Regions from separate parts of the Homo sapiens genome. Here regions 1, 2 and 4 are each linked to region 3. Evidence: promoter capture Hi-C in human tissues and cell types (Jung and others, 2019). All regions are on one chromosome and are shown on one strand. Each heading gives the region's core, a stretch centred on a gene start or on the middle of the fragment in contact. The rest is flanking DNA. Distances are from core to core; before and after follow the strand shown. Region 1 overlaps KRT25 (keratin 25). Region 2 overlaps KRT26 (keratin 26). Region 3 holds the start of CCR7 (C-C motif chemokine receptor 7). Region 4 holds the start of KRT28 (keratin 28).

Region 1 (2,700 bases), core at 53-2,552, 180 kb before region 3:
GGAGGAGCAGCTGCACCAGGTCAGAACCGAGACCGAGGGCCAGAAGCTGGAGTATGAGCAGCTCCTGGACATCAAGCTCCACCTGGAAAAAGAAATTGAGACCTACTGTCTCCTTATAGGAGGAGATGATGGGTAGGTAAAATAATCTGCATAGATGGCGTAATATACTGAAATCTGCTTGCAACTTAGATCCCACTTTCCACTGGAAAGCGGACATAATTTGGCTGCATGCATTTATTATCATGAATACTAAATATTAAATATAATACATACTCAACTGCCAAAATACAAATTAATATCTTAAACCAATATGCAGCAGGCACCGAGTTCAAGATATGAACATTGAAAATATCACTTCTAGAGTGAAAAGAACAAACGGGAGGCTAAATGGAGTTTCAATATGTGGACCAGGATTCTGACTCTGGAAATGGTTTCTGGAGCTCAGCACTCACAGAATCCTGTCTTCATAGCACTGATAAAGTCCCATGGCCACAAGTCTGGATGTCTAGAGCTCAGGGTTGTTAGGAGCAGGAAGCTTCCTGAATTCACAATGAAGATCATTTTCATCACCCCAGAAAGTTCTTCTGTGCCCCACTTCCCTTGGCAGTTATTATTTTATCCATTCTTGATGTTAATATAAAAGGAATCATACAGAAAAAAAAATCACTTCTTAATGCTGAAGCAGAACAAAAACATTACAGTCTCAGAGAAAACCCCACTTAGGAAAAGTATCTTGTAATTGCCTAACTGCTGAAGCGATCTACACCACTCTTCCCCACCTATCATCAAACCCTCCCTCATTGACTAGAGTGATGCTTCCAAATGTAAATCCTTACACAGCTATATAAATTTGTCACAATTCATAAACCTGCAAAACTTAAAAGGGTGAATTTCAACCTAAGTTGTATAAATACACCCAGTGGCATGCTAGAACTGCTGTTACCATCTCATGACAGCCTCTTCTGCCTATCTCTTCTCTTCCTAACCCCTCACTTAGTGATGTCACTTGGTGACTTGATATCAGCAATGGAGAAGGTATTCATACCTCTACAGAAATCAGCAAACACTATAAATCAAATACTGGGTTACACAGTTGAAACTACCAAAGAGCTAAAGAAAACCATATGGTGATCCTAGAATTGATGGGGTTCTCTCTAAATCACCCTCTTTTGCGATGTTTTCACAGAGCCTGTAAGTCTGGGGGTTACAAGTCTAAAGATTATGGATCTGGAAATGTGGGAAGTCAAGTCAAAGGTAATTAAAATGAAATCTGTTGTGCAATGCTAATTTTTTATTTTTTAACTTTTAATTTAGGTTTGGGGGTACATTGGAAGGTTTGTTACATAGGTAAACACGTGTCACGGAGGTTTGTTGTGCATATTATTTGATCATCCAGGAATTAAGCCCGGTACCCAATAGTTATCTTCTCTGCTCTTCTTCCTCCTCCCACCCTTCCCCCTCAAGTAGAACCCAGTATCTGTTGTTTCCTTCTTTGTGTTCATAAGTCCTTATCATTTATCTCCCACTTATAAGTGAGAACATGTGGTGTTTGGTTTTCTGTTCCTGCGTTAGCTTGCTAAGGATGATAGCCTCCAGCTCCATCCATGTTCCTGTAAAAGACATGATCTTGTTCTTTTTCATGGCTGCATAATATTCCATGGTGTTTATGGCTTTATCCAGTCTGTCACTGATGGGCATTTAGGTTGATTTCTTGTTCTTGCTATTGTGAATAATGCTGCAATGAACATTCACATGCATGTGTCTTTATGGTAGAATGTTTTCTATTCCTCTGGGTATATATACCCAACTACTTCATTTTTAATGCATAGCTTGATTGTTCTTATATTACCATGGCTTGGTAAGAATACATACAATAAAGATTTGTAGTAGATATCCATATGTGCTAGATGTCTAATATTAGTGATTTGTGCTAATTTTAAACAAAATAACATGTCACCATGTTTTTTCTAACCAAATAATCAAAATTATTCACCAAAAATGAGTCTAAGTATTTGTGCTTAGTGCAAAGTTCATTCTGTATGCAAATCCTATTATTCCTTTAAATGATATAATTTTTATTCTTTTTTTAACTACATAAAATCTCCTTTTAATTTTTAATGCTCAGACCCAGCCAAAGCCATAGTGGTTAAGAAAGTTCTTGAGGAGGTAGACCAACGCAGCAAAATACTTACCACCAGGCTCCACTCCCTGGAAGAGAAATCTCAAAGCAATTAATTTGAGATGCAACAGAGAACGTATGCCACATAGCCCCTGCGAAGAAAAGGCATTATGTATCTGTCCAGAAAAATGTGCATGTCTAAGAAAAATGTCTAACCTGTTGTCTTTCTGTTACTTTCTTTCTGGGCAATCAATGACAGCATCTCCCCATTCATCTAGAAGAATGCCACACACAAATATGACTCATTTGATTATCCTACAGAAATCTGTTGTCAATTCTTTGTATTCAATAAACCTCTTCTTTAGCAAGTTATCATTGGTGATACTGTCTTTAGAATGTTTATGTGTGCAATATAAATATGTGAACATCTAACAGCTTTTATTATATAAAAACTCTTTCAAAATAATAGATTTCCTCATAGGTTTTCATAAGGCTTACCCTATAATTCAAACTGAAACAAATTCAGAAAGAATAAAAGTACTTTTATTTAAATCCCCAATCTGCCATATTTTGACATACTA
Region 2 (2,700 bases), core at 74-2,573, 200 kb before region 3:
TTCTTAGTCAATAGCAACAGCCCTGGAATTGCAGCCCTGGCTGTGAATCAAATACTGGGTGAATTATGAGCACATTGTTTAACCTTTTCAAATGCAGTTTCCTCGTTGATGAAATTGTGATAAAGCCAAAACCATACTTGTAACAAGTCTTAACTATAATGTCTCACTACATAGGTAAAGAGCTCATGACAGTGGCATACACAGAAAAGGTATTTGGTAATCACTGCCTATTACTAAATGCTTGCCCATGGCCGCATAGTGAGGAGGTAACGTCTTGCACCCTCCAAGGCCCATCAGCCCTCTGCAGCCTATTCTCACAGGAACCCAACAGTGATTGCTCCCTCCTCAGAACAAAGCACTCATTACACCACTCACTTTTCACTTAATTTACAGCACTTTTCATGTTATAGGTAACTTTTTGCATGTGTATACTTTATTTCCAACTGTAAAAACTGTGTCTTGGTTCTATATCTTCTGCAGCACCTAGCCCAGCAACACCTTTTTCATGGTAGGCACTCCAAACACATTCACTGGCCAGTTGATTGAAAAGTCAGAGTGAGAAATATTGCTAGATGAAAGAGGTAATTTCTGGTCATGAGAAAATTTCTATTCATAAACATCCATTTAATCTCTTCTTTCACTATGTTGAAGTCATGAAAAGCTTATTAATGTCCTTTAAATATATAAGGAATTTGAATCTTATTGAAACTAGAATTCCAAAACTCTTATTTCCAATTTAGAGGTATTTATAAGCTCACTAAGGAAAGAAAAAAAAATGCAATAATTTACTCTTCTCTTCACAGAAAAAGCAAATCCACATGTTACAAATCAAAAGGATACAGGCCTGTGAATTCTGGAAATCAAGCCAAAGGTATAGATAGATTTTTTTTACCTGGTGTAACTCCTTAAACTCCATCAATTGTGTTAACTAAGTTACTTATTTTTTAACTAAATAAAATTTGTTTTTAAGTTTACTTCTGGTGAATAAAGGGATGAGGGGTCATTATGATAGTTCTTAATATTTGTATTTTATATTCCCGTAGATCAACAGATGTGGTCAAATTATGAAATTATTGAAATGAGGAATTAATCCCACAACATGTTTCTTACCTGGAATGTATTATCTTTCATAGTTTCAATACTTTGATAAAAGAGCTACTTTATCTTAAACCACAAAAATCGGGCAAGTTGGTATTTAAAAGAAGACAACATTACTTGCAGCCAGCCTTTACTGCCTGATACTTAGATTGTTTTAATCCATGTTTCATTTATGTTTTCAAATGCCCATTGCTCTAAAAGCAGTGGCAAATATAAGAGAGATAGTCCAGGATCTTGCTAAACACTGACTTCAAACACAGTATTATATATCGATTTACTGCAAACTTGCAAAAAACATTTTTAAAAAGCAAACATTTTTTAAAAGGTGCAGTGGCTCATGCTTGTAATCCCAGCACTTTGGGAGGCCAAGGCAGGTGGATCACTTGAGGTCAGGAGTTCGAGACCAGCCTGGTCAACATGGTGAAACTCCATCTCTACTAAGAATACAAAAATTAGCCAGGCATTGTAGCAGGCATCTGTAATCCCAGCTACTCGGGAGACTGAGGCAGAAGAATCTCTTGAACCCGGGAGGCAGAGGCTGCAGTGAGCCGAGATCATGCCACTGCACTCCAGCCTGGGTGACAGAGCGAGACTCCTTCTCAAAAAAACAAACAAACAAAAAGCATACCTATTATGGCTACTTTTCAACCTGTTAAAAAATGACCACTAATGTTTTATTTATTTTATTTTAGACTCAACAGAAGAAACTATTGTTAAAACAGTGGTTGAGGAACTGGATCAAATTGGCAATCTCCTTTCACTGAGAGTCCACTCAGTTGAAGAAAAGTCCTCTAAAATAAGCAACATTACAGTAGAGCAACGAGTACCTTCTAAAGCACCATAATGAGGAAAAAGTTATTTGGAAAGAAAGAAAGAAAGAGAGAGAGAGAGAAAGAAAGAAAGAAAGGCTGCCTTTGCAAAAATCCTACTGGTCAAATAACCTAAGGAAATTATTCATTTCTGTTCTTAAAAGGGCTAGAATTTGTTCTCCTTCTCTTCCTTTTCTCATGTTCTATGCATGTAATCCTTTTCCAGAGTAGAAAAATCCTGCTCTGTCCCTAATTTTTGTTTTTATTTTGGGGGCCTTTTTTGACATTTCATTAAAAATTCTTCTATTGCAAGTTATTTTTTTTAATATCTGATTCTTTTTAATTGCTAAAGTTGATCCCAATGTGGCAATACTAAGGACCTGCTAATAAAATAATGTGTTTCATTTCATAGTCACAGTTACCTCAATTAATAACAGAATAAGGTGGAAAGAGCACTAGCTCTAATGTCTGGTCCCAAATCTGTCCCTGATTGACTACGTAAATAAGTTGATCTTCTTGGGTTTGAGTGTCTATGGACATAAAAGAAGAAGATAATACCCACTGATCACTAGGATTTGTTTACCCTTACAATGCCTAGCCTGGGTGATCAGCAAATGTTTGTTGTAAAATCTGAACCTGGAAAGCCGTTTTTCCATTTTCCAGCACATGCATCTCTCTGCCTCTACCATGGTAATGACTAAGCAAATTTAGAACTAAAGCCTAGGGGTGGTTCTAAATCTTGCTCATATTCTCCTGCACACAAAATTCTGCCTGACATCCTTACTAAATTATT
Region 3 (2,700 bases), core at 98-2,597:
CTCCAGCCTGTGCAACAGAGTAAGACTCCATCTCCAAAAAAAAAAAAGAAAAAAGAAAAAAAACACAATGAGATACCACTTTACAGCCACTAGGATGGCTAGAATCAAAAGAATGGACAATAGTAAGTTTTGTTGACAATGTGGAACCCTCACGCATTGTTGATGGGAACAAAATGGTGTAGTCACTTTGGAAAACAGTTTGATAGTTCGTCAAAATGTTAAATATATAATTACCATATGACTCAACAATTTCACTTCTAGGTATATACCCAAGAGAAATAAAGCATATGTCCACACAAACACTTGCACATAAATATTTATAGCAGCATCATTCATAATAGCTAAAAGGGAAAACAGCCCAAACATCCAACTGATGACAGACAAACAAAATGTGGCATATCCATACAATGGAATGTTATTCAGCCATAAAAAGGAATGGGGAATGGATCCATACCACCACATAGGTAACCTTGAAAACACTAACTGAAAGAAGCCAGATGTGAAGGTCACATATTGATACTTCTATTTATGTGAAATGTTCAGAATAGGAAAATCTATAGAGCCAGAAAGTAGATTTGTGGTTGCCAGGGGCTTTCGATGACAGGAGGGGAGGGGAGCAGTCATTGCTAGTGATTACAGGGTTCTTGAGAGGGAGTGAGAAAAAATGTTCTAAAATGTATTGTGGTGATGGTTGCATAACTCTGTGAACATACAAAAACCATTGAATTCTATACTTTAAAAAGGTAAATTTTATGGGATGTGGATTATAGCTCAATAAAGCTGTCATTAAGAAAGGAAAAGGAAGGGAGGGGAGAAGAGGGAAAGGGGAGGGAGGGGAGGGGAGGGGAAGGGGGGAGAAAAAAGATACATCGTGGCATATCTCTTCCCTTTTACCTGTCATTATGTGTCAGTGCCTCCCATTGGCCTAAACTACCCAGAAGCCAGAGGGAAAGCCATTTGGGACTATATTCCACTGTGACACTGAGCAGAGCAAGGGAAGGATGGGGACACTTCTCTCACACATCTCTGACTCCCCAACATCTAACCCATGGCCTGGCATGTGATATTCATGCTATAAATATTTGTTGAATCAGTAAATGGCCCCTCATCTAGATTCTGCCAGGCAGCGCAGGGGGCTTTTTGAATGTAAATGACCTAATGATTCAGGATCCTATGACCAGCGACTGTCACCCTCTGTCACCTTTCTTCTGCCCCTTTATCTCTGAAGGCATTGAAGGGGCCCTGCATGAGTCAGGGAGGGCTGGGGGGAGGAGCAAGGGTGGGAGGGGCAGGGAAGAGGGTGGCTTCTCCGACAACTTAAAAGGGGCTTGAACCACTTCCTCCCCAGACAGGGGTAGTGCGAGGCCGGGCACAGCCTTCCTGTGTGGTTTTACCGCCCAGAGAGCGTCATGGACCTGGGTGAGTGAGCCTCTTCATGTGAGAAGGAACAGTACCAGGGTCTTGGACACCCAGACTGACCCTGTGGAATGGGGGTGGAGGATGCGGGTGGAGCGCATAGGGGTGCTTCCTGGAGAAATCAGTTCTGATTTGGTGGGCATTGGAAGCTACTTCCAGAGAATGCCCCCTGCTGTCCCAGGAGGGGTGCACCTGCCCTTTCAGACCTGGAGAAGGGGTCAGCCTTTGGTGCCAGTGGGGACAAGGGAGGGGCCGAGATCATGTCTTTCTAAAACAGCAGGGACATAAGAGAGTGGCGGGGCTGGGCTTGGTGGTCTGGCAGAACCTGTTCTCATCATGAGGGTGATAGGTTAGGCCCTCTGGGACCTCTGGGGACAGGTTTCAACAGAGAAATTCTCCCTAGAGAGCTTAGGACCTTTTACCCACTCTCTGATTCCCACCTTTCTCCCCTGCCAAATATTCATATACCTGTCCACTTGGGGTCATGAGGAGATGCAAATGAAACGTGACTGGGTTGTGAGAATGGTGCGGTGCATTGCAAATGCAAGCTCTGGTTGCTTTCTCTCTGCTGCACATCCCACCTGCTTTGATCTGGCTTTGCTGTTGCCTCTTGCAAGTTAAGGAACGGGCAGGCAACATGGAATGGGATGGCAAGGGGCACTCAGCTTGGAGAAATCATAGCCAGGCCTTCAGCACAGCCCCTGCCCCTGAGCAAACCTCACGCACTCTGCCCCGGCAGATAACTCTACTCTTTAGAAAGCCCTTTCTCAGGTCTAACCTAGAAGGGGTCAAGGGGAAGCACTGAGGGTGTTCTGAGTGGTTCATCCAGCTCCAGACGCCCCCTTTATAAATCTCAGCTGTGGAGTCAGACCAGGCTGAGGCTAAGAAGACCAGGTTCCTAGATGGCTTGTCTCACCAGCAAACAATGCACCACGGCGGCCTCAAAGCCGCAAAGGGTTGGCTTTAAAAAGTGAAGGTTCCCTGGTGCTGTCCTCACACCCCTCCTCGCCACACCACAGCCTCCTTGATTTCATCTCTTACTTTCCCGCCTGCCCTGAACGCTGGATCTGGACCCAGCAAACAGCTGTGAAAGGGTTAAAGTGGTCACCCCACCCACTGACTGTGAACTCCTGAAAGGCAGGTTCAGGTGCTTTGAGGATGTGAGGAGAAAATGTCTGCGGAATGAATGAATACACCGTATCAAGAACTCCGTAGAGTTTAGTTTTTGAAAATCTCTTCCAAATGCCTCATTTCCCAGCCAATCTACCCTTAAATCCCACTCCC
Region 4 (2,700 bases), core at 103-2,602, 230 kb before region 3:
TCCATCTGTCCCTCTGGTTTTACTTTCTTCTTGCTATATGATCATACAGTCAATCGCCTCAATTGTTTTCTCAAGAACACCAGAAATTTCTTTGCCACTATTTCCTTCTTCTGGACCTGTCTTCAAATCCCAAAACCCACATCAATCTGATCATCATCCTTTCTATTCCTGCACCAGGATTACTTCCAAATATGCAGTTGAACATCATTATAAATGAGAGCTGGACCCTCCAATTTTCTTTTACTCATTGCTAGTCAAGTATTTTTCCAGTTCAGTATACATATTCTAAACAGTCATTCTTGCTATCAGTCACCTTCATCTGGAACATTCTGGCAACCCCTCAAATCCAGTTGGTCCAAACCTAAACTCAGTGTCTTCCTCCTCCTCTATTCCCCATCTCAGTGAATATTATGAGTTCCCAGAATCTAAAATTAATTACCTAAGAGTTATCCCCAATTCTGCCTTATTCCCTACTCTCCAAATTCAATCATATTACCATATGCTCTCAAAGCCATCTTCTCTGCATCCCCACTGCCTTCATCCTTCTCACCTGGACCATTATTCCAACCTTGTAATTGACCACCTTGTTTCATTTCAACCTGATCATTTTGCCCTCTGCTTTTTACTTAGGATTCATTACAAACTCTTTAGACCAGCACAGAAAGCTAACCATGATCCAGCCCCTGTCTGGACCTGACAATAGATTTCTTAAAGATTGTAATCACGCATTTTTCACTTCTGCATTTAGTTAACACTATGTCTTTCATTTTAGCACTTAGCATAGAGCACCAAACATCATAACCATGCTATTTTAAACAAAATAATAGGTCAATATTTGTGTCATTGTCCAAGATAATAAATAGATGTTATAATCATGGTAAGAACAGAGATGTCACTAGCCTCTGTTTTCTAAATAACACATTTTTTTCTGGTGGGATAAAATATCTGTTTCTGTAATTAGCAGTCCTTTATACCCCTCCATGGTAATTGAGACCCTACTGTACCTCACAGAACTCTATCATAATCTTACTTAACTTTATAAAAAATTTGATAATACCTGGCGCCAGATAATGACAGTATATGCCTAGGGTCTAGATGAAAGGAAAGGATTACTCACTCAAAATTAGAAGTTAAATTAATAAACTTAATATAGAACAAACCCTATTATATTTAAGATAAGAAATAGCCCAAAGCAACACCGAGGGATGTTAGACATTAATTATTTTTAAAATCACCCAATTATACATAATTTTATGCTAATCTAAGTGATGCCATTTTGCTTTTGGCATGTATAACTCAAATAGGAACGCCCCAATAATGATATATAAAAACCCAAAGAAATTATCAGTGCATGATATTCTGTTCTCTTGGGACATTACAGTTTTGCATAGACAAGGTGAACATTTCTCAAAACACCATGTCTCTCCAATTTTCTAATGGATCCAGGCATGTTTGCTTAAGGTCTGGAGCTGGATCTGTCAGACCCCTCAATGGAGGTGCAGGCTTTGCAGGCAGCAGTGCATGTGGTGGCTCTGTTGCTGGAAGTGAATTTTCCTGTGCCTTGGGAGGGGGCTTGGGCAGTGTTCCTGGTGGGAGCCATGCTGGTGGTGCCCTTGGAAATGCTGCTTGTATTGGCTTTGCTGGAAGCGAAGGGGGACTCCTCTCTGGAAATGAGAAGGTGACCATGCAAAATCTTAATGACCGCTTGGCATCCTACCTGGATAATGTGCGAGCTCTGGAGGAGGCAAATGCTGAATTAGAGAGAAAAATCAAGGGTTGGTATGAAAAATACGGACCTGGATCTTGCCGTGGACTTGATCATGACTATAGCAGATATCACCTAACAATTGAGGATCTTAAGAATAAGGTGAGAAATCACAGATTTGGAACTAACCCAAGTATTTAAAACTAAGAAATACCTAACAAAAGACATACAATAAGAAATGCTTCATGACTGTTATAACTTGTATTTATTTATTTAGATAAACAATTCTTCCTACTATTCAAAAATGGGCCCTTTGATTCATGAATTTTAATGTAGTTAAAATGTTATTAGTTCCATTGTTTATGTTGAAGTACATTCATAGGCATATGAATAAAAAAGTATTGTAGTTCTAAATTTAGGGGAATATATGAGAATAAATAAAACCATGTCTTTAATTTTTAAAAGTTAAACTTGAAACATTTTGATTATTACATAAGGAGGTGAAATTTTTATGCAAAAACTTGAGTAACCTTTTTCATTTCCTGAAATAATGAATCACATAAAAGCATACTTACTTGTTGTGTTCTCTGTTTTGGTTTATTCTAGATTATCTCCTCCACTACTACTAATGCTAATGTCATTCTGCAGATTGATAATGCCAGACTGGCTGCTGATGATTTCAGGCTAAAGTAAGTGACAGAAGAAAATCCTGCTCTAGAAAAAAGTTTCTATTTATTTAATTTGTTAAATAAAATTTCTATTTCATCCCAAGTAGAATGAACTATCACCTAAAAGATAAAAGGAAGCAAAGGATTTGTATTATAATGTTACAATCAACTTATACATAGTTATTATATTCCTGGGACAAAATATCAATATATTTCTCTGCCTGCCTAGAATACTGCCAAGCACAAAGTAGATGCTCAGTAAATCATTAGTCAACTAAGGAAAAACGTTAACTAAAATAAAATTCCAAAATGGTGTATTTTTATTTA

What was found. Contacts are between HindIII fragments. The study calls those that stand out against the background at their distance.
Region 1: a fragment that was not itself captured here is called in contact with the fragment with the promoter of CCR7 in region 3 in 2 of the 25 tissues and cell types used here (IMR-90 fibroblasts and pancreas).
Region 2: a fragment that was not itself captured here is called in contact with the fragment with the promoter of CCR7 in region 3 in 2 of the 25 tissues and cell types used here (IMR-90 fibroblasts and mesendoderm cells).
Region 4: the fragment with the promoter of KRT28 here is called in contact with the fragment with the promoter of CCR7 in region 3 in 1 of the 25 tissues and cell types used here (mesendoderm cells).

The regions. Positions count from the first base shown.
Region 1 is chr17:40,747,812-40,750,511 of GRCh38, reverse strand. It overlaps KRT25 (keratin 25), which reads left to right. Exons shown (of 8, transcript NM_181534.4): 6 at 1-132; 7 at 1,187-1,254; 8 at 2,126-2,491. The coding sequence ends at 2,235. Among named protein-coding and RNA genes, the nearest start is that of KRT25, 6.2 kb to the left of the region's middle. The HindIII fragment of the contact is 7,107 bases long and covers 1-2,700 here.
Region 2 is chr17:40,765,757-40,768,456 of GRCh38, reverse strand. KRT26 (keratin 26) reads left to right here. Exons shown (of 8, transcript NM_181539.5): 7 at 804-871; 8 at 1,791-2,219. The coding sequence ends at 1,942. Among named protein-coding and RNA genes, the nearest start is that of KRT26, 5.1 kb to the left of the region's middle. The HindIII fragment of the contact is 8,204 bases long and covers 1-2,700 here.
Region 3 is chr17:40,564,119-40,566,818 of GRCh38, reverse strand. It overlaps CCR7 (C-C motif chemokine receptor 7), which reads left to right and starts at 1,347. Exons shown (of 3, transcript NM_001838.4): 1 at 1,347-1,419. The coding sequence starts at 1,410. RefSeq lists an enhancer at 1,792-2,700. The HindIII fragment of the contact is 11,021 bases long and covers 1-2,700 here.
Region 4 is chr17:40,798,611-40,801,310 of GRCh38, reverse strand. KRT28 (keratin 28) reads left to right here and starts at 1,352. Exons shown (of 8, transcript NM_181535.3): 1 at 1,352-1,867; 2 at 2,312-2,394. The coding sequence starts at 1,418. RefSeq lists an enhancer at 2,174-2,700. The HindIII fragment of the contact is 10,010 bases long and covers 1-2,700 here.